Regions from separate parts of the Homo sapiens genome. Here all the other regions are linked to region 1. The links are contacts of gene promoters, found by promoter capture Hi-C in blood cells and fetal thymus (Javierre and others, 2016). All regions are on one chromosome and are shown on one strand. Each heading gives the region's core, a stretch centred on a gene start or on the middle of the fragment in contact. The rest is flanking DNA. Distances are from core to core; before and after follow the strand shown. Region 1 holds the start of SMIM15 (small integral membrane protein 15). Region 2 overlaps ZSWIM6 (zinc finger SWIM-type containing 6). Region 3 overlaps ZSWIM6 (zinc finger SWIM-type containing 6). Region 4 overlaps ZSWIM6 (zinc finger SWIM-type containing 6). Region 5 overlaps ZSWIM6 (zinc finger SWIM-type containing 6).

Region 1 (3,361 bases), core at 644-3,143:
AAGGCATGGTCTAGATCAGCAGTCTCCAACCTTAATGGCATCCAGGACTGGTTTCGTGGAAAACAATTTTTCCATGGACGGGGATGGGGGATGCTTTCAGGATGAAGCTGTTCCACCTCAGATCATCAGGCATTAGATTATCATAAGGAGCGCACAACCTAGATCCCTCGCACATGCAGTTCACATTACGGTTCGCACCATGAGAATCTAATGATGCTGCTGATCTGACAGGAGGCGGAACTTAGACGGAAATGCTCACTCACCCATCGCTCACCTCCTGCTGTGCGGCCCCGTTCCTAACAGGCTGCAAACCAGGTACCAGTCCGTCGTTGGGGACCCCTGGTCTAGATTACAGCTAAAGAACTACAAAGGCTTTCTCTTTATATGCCCTTCCTTCCTGCCCAAGACTTCTGGGCTTTTAACTAGGGATGCAGCACTGCAAGTATCCGGAGGCAGTAACTGGGAAAACCACCTATCATGATTAAAATAAAACACGCATTGGCCTCTGGAACGAAGGATGTTAAAATAATACATTCTGCCCACATCTTGGATTCAAGACTTGGGGAAGTTTTAGAAAAATCAGTTATCTCAAGTAAGTATTCAGTGCACACAATCCAGTGACTGAGTCTACTTTTTCTGGCTACTAAGGTACAGGCTAGGCCTAAGCAGCATAGGCTTTGAAACTATCATCCAGGTTTTCAAATAAAAAGGAGTAAGAAAACAACTGCTGGTAATACAACATTACAAACATTAACATATGCCCAACGAACAGTATCGTAGATCGTTAGATTATCTGCCAAAAGCCTGTTCCCTGGTAAATAACAGTTATTGTTGTTTTACCTAAACTAGTTAAACATGTCGCAGCTTGCTCCTGAAAGAGAACATTCTATAGTCTTTGGAGAATCAGTGAAGAGGTCTTGCAACATTTGTCAGAGGTAGTCAAACAGTGCAAGCAATCACAAAATTTGGTCACCAACCAAACCAGATTAGCTAATCTTTCAGTTCCTGTAGATTAGAAGACAATATTAACTCACCCTTTCTGCATGTTGACTTTTGCATCCCTTTATTTGTGTATTGAAAGAACAAGCACCTCTATGGGAACTCTATGCCCTGACAGTTTAATTACTTATCAAGTTTACTCTGGGCCGGTATTGATCATTCTTTCGTGAAACGAATTAGATACTTAAATTAAAAACAAACAACAAAACCCCCCTTTTCACATAGCATGGCGGCATGTCCCTTGGTAACAAGGTTGAGTGGATCCACCAAGGCCCAGTAGCTTGCCTCCTTTTCGTAAGGATGTAACTATTGTCCAACCAGAAGAGAGAGGCATGGAGTGGGATGTGCACCAGGATGAACTCGCCGGAATCGTCAAGAGTCGTTGTGTGACCCTCACCTTGACTTCGGGCGTTTTGTGGGGACCCAACTGCTTTCTTGCCGCTGCTCTTTGGTCTGAGTTTCCCTCAGCCAAACACTTCACCCACCCATGACCCTCCAACTGTCCCGCTACAGCAGGGGATGGGGGTTGTCTTCCGATCGACCTCGGGGGGCAAAGGCAAAAGTCCCTAGCTGCTTCGGAACCGCTCCTCGAGTCCTGAAGCCGCTCCACGCCTCCTCGCCCACCACTTGGTCCCCGCAGGACGTGGCAGTCTCGGGCTCCAGCCTGGAAAGGAGCCCGCCCGGGTGCCGTCACCCGCCCCGCGCGGCCTCACCTGCCGCTCCCCGGAAATCTCAGCGCTGCCCTGCCCCCGCCCCCACCCTCCCGCGTCCTCCAACTCGAGGTCCCAAGACCCACACAGCAATGGCGCAGCCGGAAACTGGGCCCTAGACTTACTCACGCCCGGCTGGCGGCTCGGGTCGCCTGTGGGCGGGACGCAAAGGCCGCGACTTCCGCCTTCCTGCTTCCGGTCTGGCGGTGAGTGGGGAGTGGGATCCGATCCCGTGGGGCTATGTAGGGGAAGTTGGTGGCTGCAGCTGCCGTGGTTTTCTCCTGGTGTCCAGCAGAAACGGCGGCGGCGCAAGGTGTGGCTGGGCCAACCCAGGATCTCCCAGGACCCTCCGCTCTGCGCGACAAGGGGCCCGCGCTTGCCAAGGCCGACGGGCAGGAGTGAACGTGGCCTCCGTGGGTCTGCAGCCCCGATAGGGTAAGGAGGGAAGAGTGAGCAAGGGAGAAACGTAAGGAATAAGGGAAAGACAAAGGAGGAAGTGCGGACGGCCGTCAAGTGCTACCCGTTGCAGCCGCAGGGGCCACGCGGGTCTGGTTGGGAGATCGAGCCTGGTCGATCCGTTTTGGGCGGAAGAGTAGGATTTATTCCTGAAAGTGTGGAGGCGCGAGCGTTTGGGTCCGAAGTTGAGTTGCAGGGAGATGTGTGGCCTGTGGACCATGGCTCTTTTACTGCAAAGTTCTTTTGCTTATTTCTGAAACTTACATTGTTTATTCGCTACTGGGCTGGAGAAGGTGAAGGCAGATCGATCTCAGTAGTACCTAATTCTAACTGTATGGGTGAGGTCGTATGAAGTCCAGGAGCTAAGATATTTAACGTATTAGGCACTTTCATGTGTGTTCAGTTGAAAATCGTGGGGAAGATATAATTAAAACTAGTCACAGTTTTCTTGGGGTAATGGGACTGTGGGTGAATTACTATAATTTGTTTGGTTATGTCTTCTAATTTTTTAAGTAAAGGACACAAATTGTATGATGGACCCAAAAAAACCTTTATAAAGAGTAAGATGAGCTGTTTGATTTTGTAGTGGTGTACCTAATCCAGTAAATAAATGAGTGGCAACATTTTTAGTATAAAAATTGAAAATCTAGGAACGGATACGCTGTGTAAGTCAGTCAGTGAGCCAACTTGTCTCCCGTATGTCAATGAACTAAAAAAATTTTATTATTGAAATAAGTAACTTAGTAAAATACTTGATTTCCAGTAATTAGGATTTTCTTACAGGGCATTTGCAATTGTAAATTCAAATGAGGAAGAAACGTATTAAGTTACTATACCGGATAGGCAATTTTAGATGTCATATAGGTTGCATATATACAATATAGAAATTTTCCATTTAAAATTTTATTACAATTATCCTGAAATTGTGACTTAAATTTTGTTTTATTTTTTGTATTCTTTCCAACTAGCCAATTGTACAGAATTTAAACCGTCTCTCAGATGTGTACAGTAGAACTCAAGAAGACAGACTACCAAGGGTCATCTGAAGTCGTGATTGGGTCACTAATAACACCAGGACAAAGTTAAGGGATCACTACTCAAGCATAAGGTAGATGATTTTTTTAAAAAAATTCCAGTTGAAATTGTAAGTGGATGTATATACACTCATTCCCTACCCAGGTATTCTAATTCTCCAC
Region 2 (3,361 bases), core at 256-2,755, 240 kb before region 1:
GCTAAAGGAGGCGGTGAAATCCCTCTCCTCTCTTGGACTTAGCTTCTCTCTTCTACTTCTCTCCCAGCAAACAAAGAGGCAGCTACTGGCAGAAAAGAATAGAAAGAGCAAAAGCTTTAGCAACAGTGGCTATAGAACTTTTCTCTTTAAAGTTCATCTTCCCTCCTCTACCATAAGGTCTGCTGCCTACCAACAAATCCTAGCCAAAGACAGCAAAACAGGGATGGGAGTTTGCCTTGAGAGGTGGTAGCCATGGCTTAGAGGAGCTGGAGACAATGTGAACTTCAAGAGGGCGATGGCAGCCCTTTGAAATTTTTCATCTGCCTTAATTTATGCCATTCTTTCCCCTAAAGATCGGAAAGTAAATAAAAATTTAACCATTGGGAACAAGGGGAAAAAATGCAATCATTTTAAGAATGCAACTGATAAGTGAGAAAATGTGAAGGAAAGTTTTCCGGTGGTACAAAAAATACTTTTTTAACATCCTGGCTAATACGGTGAAACCCCATCTCTACTAAAAATACAAAAATTAGCCGGGCGTGGTGGCAGGCGCCTGTAGTCCCAGCTGCTCGGGAGGCTGAGGCAAGAGAATGGAGTGAACCCGGGAGGCGGAGCTTGCAGTGAGCCAAGATCGCGCCACTGCACTCCAGCCTGGGCGGCAGAGCGAGACTCCGTCTCAAAAAAAAAAAAAAAATTACTTTTTTAAACCTCCCAAGATGGCTACTGAAGAGACCTCAATAAGTCACCTAATTCATCCTGGGAAGACAAGACTACAGTTAAACTATCCAAGGAAAGCTACTCAAAAATATACTTCAGGGAGTGAATTCCCACATAATTTAATTTCCTCACTGTCAAAAACATCACTTAATTATCAAGAAGCTCCCAAGATTGAAAACTAAGAACTGCACATTAAAAACTGCTTCCTCTTATGACAAAAATCTACACTGGCCAAAAAAGGTTTCCACTCACACGCAGAGTCTAAGCATACATTATTTTGTACGATTCCAGAATCTTGTTTACAGGCGTGTATTCCCTTCTGATTTTATTCAAAAGATTCTCTTTTCTTTTCCAAGTGTGCTTTCTAAATCTGAAGACAAAGTGTTCCTTTTCCCAGGCTCCTTCTTCCCTGGCCTCCATGTGATGAGGCACCCATGCGAGAAATAAAGGAGCTATAGGGCTCATAGTGGTCTTAGTTGTTAGTCTGTGAAAGGCTGAAGTTGCTAGCTGCATATGGATTAGAATTTTCCTGTTTACAATGGTCCCCTGCTCTATAGCAAGAGGAACAGGACTGACCACAGGTCACATGGTTTAGAAATCTTAGGCCATTTTTTACATTTTAATTTTTCTAAACAACATGGCTTTAAGAGCCCAAGAGAGTTCTAAACCCTAAAAATGCTATAATTTTGGTAATAAAGAACTGGGCCCCAGGGAATAATTACTCAATTTTAAATGGCTGCCTCAACTGGAGGATTTTTAAAATAAATCCTGCTGATGGTTTCAAGATAGTCTTAAAGGACTAGAGTTACCTCAAGAAAGCTATCAAAGACATGTGTCCTCAATTAAGTCTGAAATCTTTGTTTCTTCTAAATCAGATGTGTAAACTTGGCAAGTGACATCCACTTGTAAACAGCACATTATTCCTGGTGTAATGCACAATTACTCTCTTAATTTTACCATGAGATCCAGAGTTAGATACATGCATTTACCACCTTATTACCTAAGTGTACAACATAAGAGCAGAGATTTTTGTTTGATTTGTTCATGTGTGCAAATCATTAGCAATTAGTGAATGCTACACAATTAAATTACATACAAAAATGAGTTAATTTCTCTCATTCATTTAGATATAAGGTTCAACTATAAATACAGTGAAATATAAATAAGATATTATGCCCAAAAATACAAATTCTAAATATTCCCATAGGGACAAAGTAATAATTATTGTGGGAATAACAACTTTAAATTTCCTAAGTTGTTATTGGATACAAATGGATACTTAACCTTTAAGGTGCAAAACCTTATATTGGAGTTCCAGTTTCCACATTTAGCCCTAAAGCACTGTAATCTAGAAACCATACAGTATCTTATTCTCTGAAGAAAGTTAGTCATTAAAAACACCTTCATTTGGTTAGTTTCTGGACATAGTACTTCCTGTTTTTCTTCCTGGGGGGAAAAAAAAAACAAACTAGAATCTCTGGAATCCATGCTACAAAATTTTAACTTAAGTCTATACTTCAAGCAATTAAGGTTTCATATAAATCAGAAAACAAATCTAGTTAAAGTAGAATTCCAACTATAATGAGTGACATAATGGCAAAATTCCATTGTAGTTTTAAAAGATCTGCTGTAACTAAAAACCACATTAGAACTTCAAGCATTTATGGATATATCTTCAAATTCATTCTCTCCATTGAATCATTCCTTCCCCTAAATGTACTTAAAATTTTCATAGTCATCTTTTCTAAGGTTCTTTAATTCTACAGAATGTGTGCTCTATTTGCTGCTTGATACTTTACACTAAAAGGCATCCCAAACACAGAAATATCTACAAACTCAGGATGTACATGTTCCATTAACGACATTTTAAAGGTGACAAGATGATAAGAAATCATTTCCTTGAATTTTATCCCATATCTAAGACTTCCAGAATATTTTTTTTTCAGTCTCTCCTTTTACCCCTGGAGCTAGGGTGAAAAAAAAAGAGAACAGGTATCAGTGTGGATGCTGCTAACATAAGCACACAGATATGCAAGTACTTGGCAGGAGGGAGAAAAGGGGAAGGACAAAAGAAATGACAGCAGGGAGAGGAGACTGGTCTTGCTGATTCATAAAATGCTTGGCTTAATGGGACATTTGGGCAGTGATATTATTTTGAAAACATTTATGCTAAAGCTTCTTTTGTAGTATATCAAATTAAGAAAAGGTCATATAGGTTGATGCAACTAAGTAAATTATATTACAAAGAACAAGTTACAAAATACAATAATGCAGATGTGGCCTACCCTATAAACTACCTCCATGTCAAATCTGGATACCTCTCTTTAGACAGATAATTTATGTAGTATTTCTGATGCACCATTATCCCATTACATTCTTATACAGTATGTTTTTTACTAGCTATTTTTCAGGTAAATGTCATTCAGATTTTTTAACCTATCTCATATACCTCATAATATATGAGATATTTTATGAAACCTCATAATAAAGGGTATCTATATACCCTTTATTTTCTAAAATGTAATTTTTCAACATACAGCATCCATCAGGATATCTGGAGTAAGACTTCAGTATGTTTCTCTTTATGAATTGCTTTTTAAACTTTACCTCCAACAGAATATTCTTAAACTGTTTAAAGTTACAG
Region 3 (3,361 bases), core at 394-2,893, 220 kb before region 1:
ATGCCACCACACCTGGCTAACTTTTTTATATGTTTTGTAGAGATGGGGTTTCACCACATTGCCCAGGCTGGTCTCAAACTCCTGAGCTCAAGCAATCCACCTGCCTCAGCCTCCCACAGTGCTGAGATTAAAGGCATGGGCCATCACACATGGCCCTTTTTCTCAATTTCTTACATTTGAAATATCCCATTATTTTATTTAGTGCAGGGGTGATAATTAAAATAATCGTAAGTTTCATCAGCATGAAATATGGAAGAGAACATGGAATGGACACAACCCTAGTTTTCAGGCAACTTATATAAATATGCTGTTTGGTTGGGGCAGCCAATTTACTGTATCTTATTACTGATATTATCCATTTGCTGACTGGGGGAAAGTGTAGATTTCTCCCAAAAGCAGATGGCCAATCTACCATAGAAAGCTATTTTCTGACATAAGCAACTACCAGCAGAGAAGTAAACTCTCAATAATCAGAACAAGTCCTTTTGAACTCTATAGAATGCTCATTATCAATATCATAAATAATACAACAAAAGGCAAAGGCTCCCTTGAAAAGAGTCTTAACAACTAAAGATAAAGGAACCGGCCCATAAATGAGTGGTTGGTAGAGGGCATTTGGCAGGAGCACGTGGATAAAGAGCCTCAAAAATAAAATGAGAGCTAGTAATGTTCTCTGAGACAGTAAACTGTTCAAAAGTATGAAAAACATCTTTAAAACCCACACAAAGGGATTTTTAAAACAGGAAAATCTATTAACCCACACGTTGTTGGGTTATTTTTCTTAAGTACACACATGTTTTGGAAACTTCAGAATCTCAAAATATATTCCTGATTAGCAACACTCAAGTTTCCAGCTGCCTTTACATTTGTTCACTTTGTCAAAGCCCTAATTCTACCAAAGTCCTTTGTCCTGTACAAATGCCAGCTCAGCTCACCTTACTAGAAAGGCTCTTCTGGTTTTGTCAGCTGTGCCCATGATAAGCAGCTGGGGAGTATGGAAAAACCATTAACCATTGACTGAAAAAGAGGGTAGCCATGGAGTTTCACCATTTGTTGCAGAAGTGGTTATAAAAAAAATGTAAATCAAAAAATGAAATTAAAAAGACTATTCATTGCTCCACACCTGCTCCAAAAAGCTTTGCAATCACCAATCCATGTAAAACAGCCACAGCCCAATTAAAGGAAGCATTAATCCTTGCTTAAACAGAGAGAGAAAAAAACTAACAAGGTACAAAGCAAAGGCAAATCACTCCGGGCAAATAACTCAGAAGCAGGAAGAGAAATGTCCACAGATGCACTGGGGATAAACCAAAGGTCTTTCTGAGGTCTGTGTTTCCCTGATGTAGTACTCTAAATGTATGGCATATCCAGGGCAGAGAAACATCAATTTGGAATGTATGCAGGAGAGCTTTTTACAACTTCAAAGCATTGAAATGTGTTCCTAATTAGTATGAAATATATGAAAACCAAATGCAGATTAGGCCTCAAATATTTCCCATCTTTAGCATAGTCCAATTGCTGGGCAATAGTGCCACTGTTTCCATTCCCTCCTATGCCTACCTGTGCCCACCACCTCAAGAAGTGTGGCTATTGGGAGGGTTCTCCCCCTGAGCCTGTGCAAGAACCCCACTGAAAACCCCACATCCAAAGCTGGCCATGAGTCGAATCCAATCAGGCACCAACAGTCTGGGGTGTTTGCCTCTATTCGAAAGACAAGAGAGCCAGTGGACATCATCACTATGGCTAGCAGGATTATGCACACCCTGGGGCACAGGGGCTGAGGGAAGCCTCCCAAAAGAACTGAATGGATTTTCAATGAAGAAGCCAAGTAAACTACGCTGCCTGGTTATGTTAGACAGTATGTGCTATACAGAGGATGTGCATTCTAGTATGAAACAATGAAAGAGAAAAGAGCATTAACATTGATAGAATGCCAATGCAGGGGCCAAGATACTAGAAACAAATTATCTCAATTAATGCAACTGAGGCCCACAGGAGTTAAAAACTGGCCCCAGGTCACAATGGTAGTAATGGCTAAAACCAGGATCTAAACTCAGGTCTAACTACAAATTAAGTGTTCTTTCTGTCAAATCGGATGCCTTTCATTATTCTTCTCATTTATCATGCCGCCCTGAAATAGTTAAGCTTCAACTATGGTCATCTATAAAGGTGATGTCAAACTCAAGAGTGAGCCGAGAATTTCCCGGACAACCCAGGAATACATGCTGGCTTGGGAGAACTCCTTTAAACTCTAAAATGTTTCCCTTTTACCACTTTTGATAAAAATATTTCTCAAAATATTTGTCTTCTTGAAGAGAATATACCAAACACCATTAACCAGTATTTGTGTTGTCCATGTCCATGGAGTTCTGCCATTAGAAATGACAGACTGCACTGCACCTTAGAGATGGAAGGGGCTGCACAGACCACTTAGTCAAACCCCAGGACTGCAGGAGTTTCCTCCAAGATTTTTTTTTGAGACGGAGTCTCACTCTGTCTCCCAGGTTGGAGTGCAGTGGCACGATCTCAGCTCACTGCAACCTCCGCCTCCCGGGTTCACGCCATTCTCCTGCCTCAGCCTCCTGAGTAGCTGGGACTACAGGTGCCTGCCGCCACACCCAGTTAATTATTTTTTGTATTTTTAGTAGAGACGGGATTTCACCATGTTAGCCAGGATGGTCTCGATCTCCTGACCTCGTGATCCGCCTGCCTCGGCCTCCCAAAGTGCTGGGATTACAGGTGTGACCCACCGCGCCCGGCCTCCTCCAAGATTTTTACAAGATGGCAGAGCAAAAAAAGTGAATATGAAAAGAAGGCCATTTACATATGGTCCAACAGACCTAAGATTTAAGCAGTTTGGGGGACACAAAAGTTCTAATATTCCATCAACATTCAAAGTCACCCCACCAGCACCTGAGTTTTATCCAAGCAAACAGAAACAATAATCTCACTAAAGCCAAACTGGTCGCCTATCCATCTTCACACTTTCTAAACCCCATAATCTCATGAATTCAGACTCAACTGTTCATCAGGTTTTATGAGAGTGGTGGCTTGTTTTAGCCTTTGTGAAACTTTCTTTCTTCCCTGCCCAGACTCAAAGGGCTATGTATACTTTTCACCACCATGCATGTTCTAAAAACTTTTATTCAGTTCAGAAGAATTCTTACCAGCAAAGATCAAAGAGCTCTGTTTTAGCAAAGAAAGCAACATTTTATCTGGCAGAATTCTTAGGTGTCAGTAAAGTAGTAGTGTTTCTCAGTAGAAATTTTTTTTTTTTTTTTTTTTTTTTGAGACGGAGTCTCGCTCTGTCGCCTAGGCTGGACTGCGGACTGCAGTGGCGCAATCTCGGCTCACTGCAAGC
Region 4 (3,361 bases), core at 246-2,745, 200 kb before region 1:
TGAGCTGTGATCATGCCACTGCATTTCAACCTGGGTGAAACAGTGAGACCCAGAAAAGAAAGAAAGAGAGAAAGGAGAGAAAAAAAGGAAAGAAGAAAGGAAGAAAAGAAAAGAAAAGAAAGAAGGAAAGGGAGGGAGGGAGGGAGGGAGGAAGGAAGGAAGGAGAGAGAGAAAGAAAAAGAAAGAAAGAGGGAGGGAGGAAGAATGGAAGGAAGGAAGGAGGGAAGGAGGGAAGGAAGGAAGGAGGGAAGGAAGGAAGGAAGGAAAAGGAAAGGGAAGGGAGGAAGGAAGGAAGGAAACAAACTATCCTACAGAGACTACTTAAAACTCTTGGCCTCTAAAGTTAATACCAAAATGTTAAATGAGAAACTGTGTGCCTTTTTAATAACCTTTAAACATATTTTAGCTTACCTCAGGAATGACTTAAACCTCAGCAGTGCTCATATTAGCAAAGTATTTTTACGTCCATCCTTGATAGCTAGGGTCTCTCCCCACCCCCCAAGCCAACTAATCATTAAGGCACTGTGCCAATAATAAGTTTCCGTAATATGATACCAGCTATTTCCAGAAGCTTCATTAGAAAATATGTTGAGTCTAAAATAAGTATGAGAACACTTTGGGATCAGAGATGAGATTGCCGAGAACAAGGGTTTAGTCAGCCTTTTGTGAACTCAGCAGAAGTGTGCAAGGTAAGTACTATAAAATCTTATAGGCAGTTCTGTTACTATTCAAAACTGGTTCTATATGTCACTAGATTACAGGGTATTCTTACCAATTCTATATAACAAACAATTTCAAATAACCAAGAGGTTACTCTGATTCCATGATGACACTTTCCACGAGTTGATGTAATCATTCTTGTATGGATAGCCTTGTAAACTGGTGCTGTTAGCCTGTACTAAACCTTTTCCATTTGATTGGCCTCAGAGGGTTCAGATCAAACACCTTCCTTGCAGGCAGTGCCCCCTGTGGGGTGGGGAAAGGAGGGCACAGTCTCCAATATGTAAGCTGGCTCCCTACAACATCTCTAAAAACATCTACAGTGGCTCAAGAACAGTGTTTTTCAAATAGTGGGTTCCTGAACCACTAAGAGGTCATAGGCCAATGCTGTGTGTCACAGAAAGCATTTTTTAATGGAAATGAGACAGTATTATTGAGAACATCAGCAAGCATGGCATGTTTTAGGGATAAGTCTTGTCTTGTGAAAATCTGTTTCTGTTATTTATAGTAACGTATGTGTGTACTGGGTTGTGATGTAAATTTTCTTACTTTACAGGGGTAGCAGTCTAAAAATGGCTTGAAATGCCTGCCAGACCTAAACAGATATAAAAGATAAGCAAGCAATCAGGAGAGCAGTCAGACCTGGAAATAAAAACTGCAGTCATCACTTGATGGCACAGAAAGCTTTGGGATAATTGGCATAATCTAAGAAAAGGGCATCAGGTAGGAGAAAAGTGCCCAGCCTTAGACGATAGGGACACCAACATTTAGAGGGCAGATAGAGGATGAAGCACCAAAACTCAATGAAGGAGTGGCCAGAGAGGTGGGAGGAAAATCATGAGCTGAGGCTCCCTGTGCAAGCTTCTTCTACTGCAGGGAAAACCTGTAAAACTAAAAGTTAAAGCTGGGCACAGTGGCTCACACTTGTAATCTCAGCACTTTGGGAGGCCAAAGTGGGCAGATCACCTGAGGTCAGGAGTTAGAGACCAGCCTGGCCAAAATGGCGAAACCCCATCTCTACTAAAAATACAAAAATTAGCCAGCATGGTGGCGCACACCCGTAATTCCAGCTATTAAGGTGGCTGAGGCACGAGAATTGCTTGAATCCGGGAGGCAGAGGCTGCAGTGAGCCAAGATGGGGCCATTGCATTCCAGCCTGGGGTACAGAGCGAGACACTGTCTCAGAAAAAAAAAAAAAGTGAGTAAGAAGGCATATCTCAATTTCCCATTTTAAAAAAATAAGGCATGAATGAGGAAGGGTTGGAGAATGTTTATAAAGTAAAGACAGTAAAAGATGCTACAGAGCCTGGAAATTTACTTACTTTGCTGATACATATCTAAGAATACTCGCTTGATATTTTATGGTAAGTACTGTATACCAAGAGAGGATGTTGGTATCCATTTAAACCACCTATTTCCATATGTGAAAACATGTGGGAGACTCACATAATGGTTAATCATTTTAGGTTTGTCTGTTAGCGTTCTAAAGGTGCCAAACTGCACCACAGTGAATCTTGTCCTTAAAGTATATTTTCCACGATCTTCTTGCAAATTTCACACTAAATTTCCTGTGAGGAAAGGATAATAGTTAATAACCTGGGAGCAAATGCTTTCAACATAAAGTATAATAGAATAACAGGGTTGCCTTTTGTTTAGACTGGAGTTGTCCCAAGGCTTTATCCTGAGCCCCTGTCGTTACAAGCCACAGCTTCTAATCTTCTGGGCAGCAGCCTCAGTTGGAGGTAAGGGGGGTTCCCTGGAAACAAACATGAAAATCCAGTATCATGACTACTTTAAATGTCTTTGTCTAGTTCATAACTTCTTACAAATAACCTGTCAGTACTCTTGGTCTTAATAATACAGCACATTTCTGTAGTGGGATGCTAACTTTCTTTTTCAATATTTACTTAGAAAAGAGGTAACTACTGCTCAGGACAATTAGTATGTTACAGAATCAGGAGGATGATACTGAAAAACGGGCCTTAAAAATTATCTTGCCAAGTTTCCTCATTTAACAGATAAGAAACTGGAGATTTTTCCAGGTGATCCAGAGGAAAGAACCTGGCTGTCAGAAGCAGTTAGATGAGGGTTTCAATCCCACTTCTATTACTTTTTCATCACACAAAGTCAGTTTCAGTTACCTTTATTTGTAAAATAAAGGTAACTACCAATCTCACACAGGATAATTAAAAGGAAGCAATGTGTTTAAAGCACTTAGCACAGTGCTGGCACATGGTAGGTATTCAAAAGTAAGTCCCTCTCCTTCAGCCCAGGGAAAAGTCCACATTGGGACCTACTCCCACTCCTCTGTGACTTTACCCCCCTCCCCCACAAACACACACACACAAGGAAAAAGACCACAAGAATATATATGTATTTCATCTTTTTATTCGTCCTGATTTAAATATAAAATTAACATTAAGGGGCTTCTTATATAACACACCTAAATTCAAACTCAATCCAAAAGATGGCAATGGTCTAAGGAATGCGTAGAGAAAGAAGAAAACCAAGGTGCCTCAGTGAGACAAGGCGAAAACAAGCAAGTTCAACATCACAGAAGTCAAAGTTGTAATTCCATATAAATGGCTACTGTTATCAAAAGCCAGGAAAAGATCAAAGAGAAACAGAAGCTTAAATAACC
Region 5 (3,361 bases), core at 416-2,915, 180 kb before region 1:
TATTTCCCTAAAGGGTGATTGGAGGAAGAGGGGGACAACTGGAGGGAATGAGGGAAATGGAATATACTCTCAGTAGGTATTACTTATCTCTTCTGATTTGTCTTCTTTTCTACCACACACTCCTTTCTCCTCCCTTCCCTCACCCCATCCCCAAGAAAGGAAAGGACAGAGGAAAAGAAGAAAGAAAATGAGGGAAGAAAGGAAAGAAAGAAAGAACAAACTGGAGCTGTGAGGCAAGTTGAGTTCACAGTCTTCCGCACCTGCTGCCCTCAAGTCTCACTTGATTCTACCCTGCCATCATCACAAAGCAGCCATTGGTCATTTCACTCATCAGCTTCACCACTGTCTAGAGAAAAGTATAAACCACAATCGTGAAAAGACTGGCTAGTTCACTGGGCTGAACGTATATCAGACAAAAATTACACAAGTGGTATTTGGGGGAAGAAGGGAAAAAGAACTGTAAAAATGGCATCAAGAATACAAAATCCTGGCCAGGCACAGTGGCTCACACCTGTAATCCCAACACTCTGGGAGGCCAAGGTGGATGGATCACCTGAGGGCAAGAGTTCCAGACCAGCCTGGCCAACATGGTGAAACCCCGTCTCTACTAAAAATACAAAAAATTAGCCAGGCGTGGTGGCACGTGCCTGTAATCCCAGCTTCTCAGGAGGCTGAGGCAGAAGAATCACTTTAGCCCAGGAAGTGGAGATTGGAGACTGCAGTGAGCCAAGATTGCACCACTGCACTCCAGCCTGGGTGACAAGAGAGACACTCTGTCTCACCAAAAAAAAAAAAAAAGTCCAAAGTGCTAAGGATAAGGAAACTTGCAGAACACTAAAAAACAAAGTCATAAAGGAACAGGGCTAACATATTACATATTTAAAAGTTTGCTCACATAAAACAACTAGATTACAAACATGATATTTGGGTTTTAGAATCTTATTTTATGACAAGTACTTATTATAAAAATCACAATATTCTTTGTAGAAATGAGTTAATAGAAAAGGTAGCAGCAGGAGTAAAGGTTCAGCATGACCAGGCCTCTACCAACAAAGACCTACAGCCACACCAGAAAAGACTCCAGGTATGCCCCTTATACCTAAATTACAGAATCCCTACACAGTACTACACTCATAAAAATGCTAGTAACTATCAGCAAACATTTATCACATACAACCTGGCGTATACAAAATTCTAATCTGTACTGATTGTAATTACGTAAGAGAATTTAAAACTTGCTTTTGTGGACTTATTCTACATGGTATCTTCTCATGTATATTTTCTCTATAAAATCTTCCAACATTAGAGATCTGATACCAACTAACAATGAAAAATACTTTAAGTAAACAGACTCTCAAGGCAGGAATAGGGAACCAGTCACCTGAGTTTTAAGCACATTAATTCACTCAATGAGCTTCCAAAGTATCTGATCAGCTTATTCAGTTAGTAAGAGTTTAAATGTACTGACAGGTTCTACTGCATCCTTCCAATTAACATCAGCATTCAGGAATTGCACAGATAAAACCCTATCTTTCAAAGAATGTCAAATCTCTTTACCAGCAACAAGAAATAATATAATTGTAACATTTTAAAAGGACCTTAAAATGAGATATTTAATTTCTCAAATATATTTTGAAAACCTAACTTTGCTGCATATATACGATTAGATCTAACCTGCAAGTTAATTTCTCTTTCAAAACTTAACATCTCATGGAAGATGATCAAAATCACCCAACACAACCATCCTCCAAAGCTGAAATTCATTCCTAAAAGACATTTTTTTTTAATGTAGTAGTTTTTCAAGTAAAATTTTAGAGTTCTGGAGATTATTTGCGTAACAATGTAAATGTACTTAACACTGCTGAACCACACACACAAAAATGGTTAAGATGATCAATATTATAGTATGTCCATTTTAAGACAACCAAAATTTTTTTAAATCCTAATATGTGTAAATATCCTTATGATTTTTAAATAAATCCTCTCAATTGGAAAAAAATAACATTTTAAAATGATACCTTTGATCACAATTTAAAATCCAGGCCACTGTGAAAGTCACTCTAGAAAGTAGCAACACACTGTAAAGCTAAACCTTCTGGAATAGGTAATGATGATGCATCATGGACAGTATTGCTTGAGCACCAACCAAAGAGGCTGCATGTGTCTGGCTCTGTTTTTAACAGCAATAAAAGTTATTTCTACTTTTTTCCCTGTGTTTCGGTTTCCTCATCTGTAAAACGGAAACAATAATGGTCCCTAACTCATATGGCTGTTAAGAAACACAAAAGGAAATGAGGGAAGTGGAATATACTCTCAGTAGGTCTTACTCACTTCTTCTGATTATATTCCAGGGCAGTATTTGGCACCTGGTTAAGTGCTATGAAATGTTAGTTGTTATTACTCTTACTATTAGTAAATGTTGTAGAAGTGTTAAAGAGTCTCACCATAAATCACATCCAGCTGGTTCAGTGAAGAACTGCCCCAAGTCATACAAAAGGCTTTAAAGGCCGGGTGTGGTGACTCACATCTGAATCCTAGCATTTTAGGAGGCCGAGGTGGGTGGATCACTTGAGGTCAGGAGTGCAAGACTAGCCTGGCCAACATGGTGAAACCCCAACCCTACTAAAAATACAAAAGTTAGCCAGGCGTCATGGCGCATGTCTGTAATCCCAGCTACTCAGGAGGCTGAGGCAAGAGAATCGCTTGAACCCGGGAGGCAGAGGCTGCAGTAAGCTGAGATTGCACCACTGCACTCCAGCCTGGGCAACAAAGGGAGACCCCATCTCAAAAAAAAAAAAAAAAAAAAAAAAGGTTACAGAGAGTACTACAGTTTGGAGACCACATCATTTATGTGAAAGAAGTACATATATGTATAGGTACATCCTGAAGGATTATGTGTATACTATTTACCGGTGAAGGAGGAGGAGGCACGTTGACAAAAACAATAAATTATATTTTAAAAACCTGGTCAAATACAAACAATACTGGAGAAGTTTTCATATATACACTAAGTTGAGAGCAAACTTCTGTTGTTCTGTATCAGCACTTCAAACTTTCAGCAAATTCTTTATTATATGGGTATATGTATACATTCATGTAACAGCAAGTCCTCCACTTAATGCCATCAATAGGTTCTCGGAAAATGACTGTAATCAAAATGACATATTACAAAACCAATTTATCATAGGCTAATTGACATAAACAGTAATTTCCTATGGCATATTTCTGGTCACAAAAACATCACCAAACTTCTAAATAAAGACCACAACACTTCTAATATTAAACATTGAAATGAATGTGAGATGTACATACATTTTACGACGATTAATAAAAACAAGGTAATTCTTCACCCAGTTATTCC

What was found. The method cuts DNA at HindIII sites, captures the fragments that hold promoters and counts their contacts. A CHiCAGO score of 5 or more calls a contact.
Region 2: a fragment that was not itself captured here is called in contact with the fragment with the promoter of SMIM15 in region 1 in 2 of 17 cell types (monocytes and neutrophils); the score reaches 7.7 in monocytes.
Region 3: a contact is called between a fragment that was not itself captured here and the fragment with the promoter of SMIM15 in region 1, in 2 of 17 cell types (monocytes and neutrophils). The highest score is 8.0, in monocytes.
Region 4: a contact is called between a fragment that was not itself captured here and the fragment with the promoter of SMIM15 in region 1, in 1 of 17 cell types (monocytes). The highest score is 6.6, in monocytes.
Region 5: a fragment that was not itself captured here is called in contact with the fragment with the promoter of SMIM15 in region 1 in 3 of 17 cell types (neutrophils, monocytes and M2 macrophages); the score reaches 9.0 in neutrophils.

The regions. Positions count from the first base shown.
Region 1 is chr5:61,161,000-61,164,360 of GRCh38, reverse strand. It overlaps SMIM15 (small integral membrane protein 15), which reads left to right and starts at 1,893. Exons shown (of 3, transcript NM_001048249.4): 1 at 1,893-2,144; 2 at 3,134-3,273. SMIM15-AS1 (SMIM15 antisense RNA 1) reads right to left here and starts at 2,045. Exons shown (of 4, transcript NR_109908.1): 1 at 1,835-2,045. RefSeq lists enhancers at 1,205-1,264, 1,305-1,404, 1,935-2,194, 2,265-2,344, 1,830-2,726 and a silencer at 1,645-1,754. The HindIII fragment of the contact is 8,836 bases long and covers 1-3,361 here.
Region 2 is chr5:61,401,343-61,404,703 of GRCh38, reverse strand. The region is part of intron 1 of ZSWIM6 (zinc finger SWIM-type containing 6); the gene reads right to left. Among named protein-coding and RNA genes, the nearest start is that of ZSWIM6, 71 kb to the right of the region's middle. The HindIII fragment of the contact is 2,778 bases long and covers 117-2,894 here.
Region 3 is chr5:61,384,176-61,387,536 of GRCh38, reverse strand. All of the region lies in intron 1 of ZSWIM6 (zinc finger SWIM-type containing 6), which reads right to left. Among named protein-coding and RNA genes, the nearest start is that of ZSWIM6, 54 kb to the right of the region's middle. The HindIII fragment of the contact is 1,009 bases long and covers 1,139-2,147 here.
Region 4 is chr5:61,360,759-61,364,119 of GRCh38, reverse strand. All of the region lies in intron 1 of ZSWIM6 (zinc finger SWIM-type containing 6), which reads right to left. Among named protein-coding and RNA genes, the nearest start is that of ZSWIM6, 30 kb to the right of the region's middle. The HindIII fragment of the contact is 177 bases long and covers 1,407-1,583 here.
Region 5 is chr5:61,341,323-61,344,683 of GRCh38, reverse strand. The region is part of intron 1 of ZSWIM6 (zinc finger SWIM-type containing 6); the gene reads right to left. Among named protein-coding and RNA genes, the nearest start is that of ZSWIM6, 11 kb to the right of the region's middle. The HindIII fragment of the contact is 5,685 bases long and covers 1-3,361 here.